2 separate regions of the Homo sapiens genome follow, and region 1 is linked to region 2. The links are contacts of gene promoters, found by promoter capture Hi-C in blood cells and fetal thymus (Javierre and others, 2016). All regions are on one chromosome and are shown on one strand. Each heading gives the region's core, a stretch centred on a gene start or on the middle of the fragment in contact. The rest is flanking DNA. Distances are from core to core; before and after follow the strand shown. Region 1 has its middle 19 kb from the start of TMEM14A. Region 2 holds the start of IL17A (interleukin 17A).

Evidence for each region. The method cuts DNA at HindIII sites, captures the fragments that hold promoters and counts their contacts. A CHiCAGO score of 5 or more calls a contact.
Region 1: a fragment that was not itself captured here is called in contact with the fragment with the promoter of IL17A in region 2 in 3 of 17 cell types (naive CD4 T cells, naive CD8 T cells and total CD8 T cells); the score reaches 6.6 in naive CD4 T cells.

The regions. Positions count from the first base shown.
Region 1 is chr6:52,651,028-52,654,167 of GRCh38, reverse strand. No RefSeq gene overlaps it. Among named protein-coding and RNA genes, the nearest start is that of TMEM14A, 19 kb to the left of the region's middle. The HindIII fragment of the contact is 3,016 bases long and covers 1-2,845 here.
Region 2 is chr6:52,184,618-52,187,636 of GRCh38, reverse strand. IL17A (interleukin 17A) reads right to left here and starts at 1,262. Exons shown (of 3, transcript NM_002190.3): 1 at 1,179-1,262; 2 at 1-34. The coding sequence starts at 1,205. The HindIII fragment of the contact is 1,880 bases long and covers 1,049-2,928 here.

The sequences.
Region 1 (3,140 bases), core at 88-2,587, 470 kb before region 2:
GTCCTTGACATTACAGACAAGATCTTCTCAAAGAAAGGGCTCTCTGCTAGAGGGCACATGGAGTTGATGGACATAAGGATAATTTCTGAACTCATATACAGGCTACACAAATTCATCAAAGACACAGCCATTGTGTAAAGAAAAAAAAATGTCACCATAATAGGAAGAGGTCAGAAAAAGGCTCAGATATCTCAAGTGCAATTACTATTCATTCATTTAAATGGAGTCCCTACTTATTCATTTAAAAAATAAAATAGGGAGAACTTAGGTGCAGTCCACGGGGGTTAGTCATTATGGGCAGTGCAGTGTGCTTTTTAGAATGTAGAGAAAGAAGGAACTTTTATATGGCGAAGCAATGAGTTTCCGGGTACTGGAGGTTTTCAATAACCAGACCCTGGACCACCACTTGGCAGGGATGTTGCAGAGGTGACTCAGGCACTACAAAGTAAGGTAGACTAGGTGAGCTTTGAGGATCTATCCAATCCTGAGTGCCTCTGGTGTCATGATCCTTCTCCAAGGTAAGATATAGAACTATCCTGGAGAGGAAGAACATAGGCAGGACAGATCCCAAGAAGCCTGAGCAAGGCACCAGGAAGGAGCCAGCTGACTGGAGAGGGCCTCCTTAGAATAAGTTGGATTTATGGAGCTGGGAAAGACTTTGGAGGAAGGCTATTCATGCTCTTGATAAAGAGATGGAGAAACTGTTAGTCAAATAAGCTGGGCTATAATGTATTAAAAAACAAAGTATGAAATCTCAGTGGTTTAACAGGAGGATAGTTTATTGCTCACTTGTGCAATTGCACATAGATGTTCCTGGTCAGTCAAGTGATGACTCAGTGATCCAGGTTCCTTCCATCTTGTCTGATGGCTCTTCAACACATGGCCTCTAAGGTCAATGTGAAAGGGAAACAGATTTTTGGAAAGGCACCCTGGATACTTAACATCCAAACCCAGAGCATGGCATGCAGCACTTTCCCTCACATCCATAAGCAGGATTGATCACACAGCCAACCTCATTGCAAGGGAAGCTGCAAAACAGGGAAGACCAAACAGACCCTGGTGTATACCAATAGTTTCTGCCACAAGAGATCAAGGCCCACAGGGATGCCATGATTTTGCTGTGACCATCGTGTTAATGTTGACAAAACTAAGAATTTATTCCCAATAGGATTTCTAATAGGGTTAAATGTGGTATAAGATGGTATTTGAAGCCTTCCATGACCTGGTCCTGGGAAATCCACCATCTTTTCTGCCACTCTCTGCCTGTCAGCTAATACCCCAATAAAATAGAACCGTTTATACTTCCCACCTCTACTTTTCTTGATATCTTTGCTCAGACTGCCCCTTATTTAGGAGTGAATACCTTCTGCCACTTTACCTAGCTTCTTCTACTTGTTCTTTCAGAATCAATTAAAACATCTGTTCTTCTTGAAAACTAATCTCAACCTCCTGATCTCCACTCCCCAGACTGGGCTAGGTATCCCTCTGTGCTCCCGCATTATCCTATCCATGTTTTTGTTTTAAATCATCATAGGGTATTTAACATCATGTCGTTATTCATTTATGATTCTATCTCCCTAACTAGATTGTGTACTCACTGCAAGGAAATGGCATCATTTTTTAAATTAACATACAGTAAAACTGACTTTTTTGGTATACAGTTTGTGAATTTTAACACATGTAAATTGATATTTTCTTGGTTCTTTGTATGCTGAATAACTTTGGATCATATCCTGGACATTTTGAATATTAGCTTGTGAGACTCTTGGTGTTATTTAAATCAGATGGAATGTTGACATTTTTGCTTTAGCCATCAGTCAAACCAGTTGATTTCAAGCTCCAAGTTCCGACCAACCTTCTGTGGGTTGCAGCTTCAATGTCAGTTCTGTTTGCAAAGGCTTTGCAGTGCAATGCAGATCCAGCTGATGTATATGCCACCTAGTGGCCAGTCTGGCACATGGGTAATGGTCTCTCCCATAGTTCAGTTCTCAAAGTTTAAAGATACGCTTTTCATGGTCAGATCTATGTATGCACCATTTGGGAATAAGCCGAAGTTTGTTCTTTCTTTCTTTTCTTTCTTTCTTTTCTTTTCTTTTCTTTCTTTCTTTCTTTCTTTCTTTCTTTCTTTCTTTCTTTCTTTCTTTCTTTCTTTTTCTTTCTTTCTTTTCTTTCTTTCTTTTTCTTTCTTTTTCTTTTTTCTCTTTCTTTCTTTCCTTCTTTCTTTTTCTTTCTTTCTTTTTCTCTCTCTCTTTCTTTCTTTCTTCCTTGTCTTTTCTTTTTCTGAGACAGGGCCTTGCTGTCTCACCCCGGCTGGAGTGCAATGTCATGATCATAGCTCACTGCAACCTGGAACTCCTGAACTCAAGCAGTCCTCCCACCTCAGCCTCTCAAGTAGCTGGGACTACAGATGTACACCACGATGCCCAGCTAATTTTAATTTTTTTTTGTAGGCACAGGGTCTCACTATGTTGTCTAGGCTAGTATCGAGCTCCTAGACTCAAGGGATCCTCCCTACTCAGCCTCCTGAAGTGCTGAGATTACAGGTGTGAGCCACTGCACCCACTCTCAAGTTTTTAAAACAACTTCATGGGGTCACTTTCCCAGCTCTCTCCTCTCTGAGATCTCCCTGGTACATTCTGGTTCCCTAAAGCCTAAAAGTCCCTTTTTGAGCCTAATCTGCTCTGCATTTCCCATAACTGGGCCCTTGTCTGGGGTTGTTGTGGTCACTCAACCAAAATGAAATGGGCCCCTCCCCAAAACAAAATTTAGTTTGGATATTGAGATCAATGATGCCACACATGCAACAAGAGGGGAAGAAGAGGCTTATCACTCACATGATGAAGCTTTCTGGGGAAAGCAGAAAGAGTCCCCAAGTTGATCTGAAAATGGCTTGAGAGAGCCAACAAAGGGTACTGGCTTGTTTTTATGATGGCTAGCGGGTGAGGCTGGGGTGAGAGTTTCTGCATGTGGGCTGGAGCTTACATGGTTTGAACTTCCATCCAGTGCCAAGGGAGCATCTGAGCTCTTACATCAGCCTGCCCAGATGTGGGGCCAAAGGGTATGGGGGAGTGGTGAGGTTTGAAAGCTGTCAGCAGTCAAACATCAAAAATAGAATCAGACTCTTTAATACAGGCGCCAAG
Region 2 (3,019 bases), core at 13-2,512:
CTATGGCCTCCAGGCTCAGCAGCAGTAGCAGTGACTAGAATTGAATGGGAAAGGAGAGAGAGGTTGGAGATTAGATTACTATGTGGTTCTTTTTGACAAATTAATTGTGATGATGATGCATTGCTAATCATAGAGAACACACAATGTTCCAGGACAATCTATACTACATTTTTCAGATCAGCTAGAGAAAAATCTAGGTAGATGACCAACATAATGTTAACACCATGGCTTTAAAATTTTTTTAAAAAAACTAGTTTCAACATTCTCCTTTTGACTTAGGAAAGACATGTTATCCATTGGTTGGCAATAATTTTAATAAAAATGTCAAGTCATGGCATGTCATTAGCCTATCAGCACATGCATCATTGTCAGGTCTGGGAAGGAATAATAACCTTGATTTTCTAGGTAGAAATATCCTCCTGCACCATTGTTCTCAGTCCCATATTCTGTGAAACTCATCGTGAAGTCAAACATTCACATTGGAAGAAAGAGCTATAGAAAATCTATGTGGTATCAATATTCATGCTAGAAGTGCTGTTGGTGCTACTGGCAGGCATCCAACTAAAAACTCGATCTCCTTCATGTTTTCTTAGGTATATTTTCCAGTTGTTCTAAATTTAACATGTATTGATTCTGTAATAAAATCAGATTTCAAAAAAGATACTTGAAGTTAAATATTTAAAAAATATAAACCCCACTTATTCTAAAACACAGTTATACCTATGTTTAGTTAGAATACATAGTTTCAATGTACTGAGAATATGGTACGAGATAATGGAAACAAAGGTTGTTGCTGCTACGGCTTTCAAAATCTCAAGGATAGTGACCCATTTTAAAGAAAAATGCCGTGGGAGAATTATATTAAATCCTTTGTACTCAGAAAAACAGACTTTCAATAAATTTTCTTTCTTACTGCACAGCATCATGTGACACTTCTTGTGTGGTTTAGCCCCAATATAGCTATCTTTCAGTTTTAATCTTATCTTTCAAACTGCTGTGTATCAGTTCTTGAAAATGCTGCACAATGACTTAAATACCTACCAAAGCTTTCATTTCCTATCCTACATATACAGTATTCCTGGATCTCCATAGTCAGAACCCAGCGTTTCATGCCCACGGTCCAGAAATACTATCTGGTCCAAATCAGCAAGAGCATCGCACGTTAGTGCAGGACTCACCACCAATGAGGTCTTCCCAGGAGTCATCGTTGTTTCTTCCAATCAACTGGGGATGGATGAGTTTGTGCCTGCTATGAGATGGACAAAATGTAGCGCTATCGTCTCTCTTTTTATAGGGCTTTTCTCCTTCTGTGGTCACTTACGTGGCGTGTCGCAGTGGGTTCAGGGGTGACACCATTTTGGTTAAAATTTCCGCCCCCAATGAGGTCATAGAAGAATCTCTCCTTCTGAAGGAAAATGGGAAGGGCAGAAATTCATGTTCCTAAAGACCATGTCCTCTTTTCATTCTTACTTGTTAGAAGCTGAGCAGAGCTGCTATGCTATGGGTCAATATCATGTATTTATGAACATATGTACAGCTGCCAGAAGAGTTATGCTCTATTTTAATGGTTCATGAGGAAGAAAAAGTTTGAAGTAACATGTAGGTCTTCTGGTGTCATGTACCTTGATTTTCCATTTGATCTTTCTTTTCCTCACAGATTCCTTGGCCAGGTGTTGTGGAGACAATTCCGGAAACTACTCAAGTTCCCATCATATAAGTAAACAAAAAATGAAAAAAATATTTAATAATAAGATATATCCTATTTAATTGAATTTAACAATTCTTTTGTTGAATATCTACTCTGCTCAAGGAATAAATAACTAGGTTCAAGAGACACGAGATTTTCTGTTAAAGGCATGTTCCAACCCTGCATGCTACCAAGCAACTTGGTGTTTTGAGGAAGGAATTGAAAATGGGGATAGAGACTGGACAAAGGTGATGGAGATGGAGAAAAGGGGGGCAGGGGGGAGTAGAGAGTGATGAGAACTAGAAAGGAGAGGAGACATGATGGGGGAAAGAGAGAAGGAGTTAGCGGTTCTTTTCTCTGTACTCTAAGTAAGATGAACTTGGACTCAGGTCCTTGAGAATAGTTCCTTCTCAGGAATACAGAGGACTAGGACAAGGAAGGGCCAGTGGATATAGATGTGGCTGGCTATATGTCACCCTTCTCCGCCCCTACCCCCACTGAGGTGAATGATAACTCTCAGGCACTCAGCTGGTATCCCATATTCTACATGCTAACTCGGGGGGAGGCTGGCCAGTAGTTCCAACTCAATGGCTGGAGTGTAAAATTAGTTTGCCGGATCCTGAACCTGTTTGTCCTGAGATCCATTCCTCCCTGTCCTGCTCTACCTGTAACTCAGAGGGCTGACCCTGGAGGCTGCTTGCTCAAACTCCCCTGTCAGCTGGGTTTCAGCTAGGCTCAGCCAAAAGGGAATTGGAGGACAGATGAGTAAAAGTGGGAAGTGGAAAGTGGAAAGTGGGGAGAAGCCAGGAGCTTCCTTCCTCAGTCTCCCAGAGGACTGCTCACTCCCTTTGTCCCTGCAGCCTTCAAATGGTAACAGCTTCTTGCTGATGGCAATCTCAACTACCAGGGTGACTAGTTCTCTGACTTAAACTCCCTCTGTTGCAAATGCCTGAAGGGGCTTCTCTTTCCTGGCCAGATAAACCCTGGCTGATGAATGAGGGAGGCCATAAGCACCTGAATTTTAGTGGCAATAGTAGATATCCTTGATAGGTGAAGCAGATACAGATGGAGGAGGAGGTAGGATACAGCTTCAAGTGATTTCCGTAGTCCTGGTTTTGGCATCACTATCTATGTGCTTTTCAAGACAAGATTCAGAATGAGCCCTACTGCCCCTCCTCTACACACGACCAGGCAGCAATCCCAGAAGCTGCAGCATCTCTCACATCACCAATTTCCAAGCTTCCTCTAACTCACACTCTCACCCACTTGGATGAGCTATGCTTGCTTTTCCCAATTGCTTCCTTCAGACCATCTTCGACATGCTTTCAATAA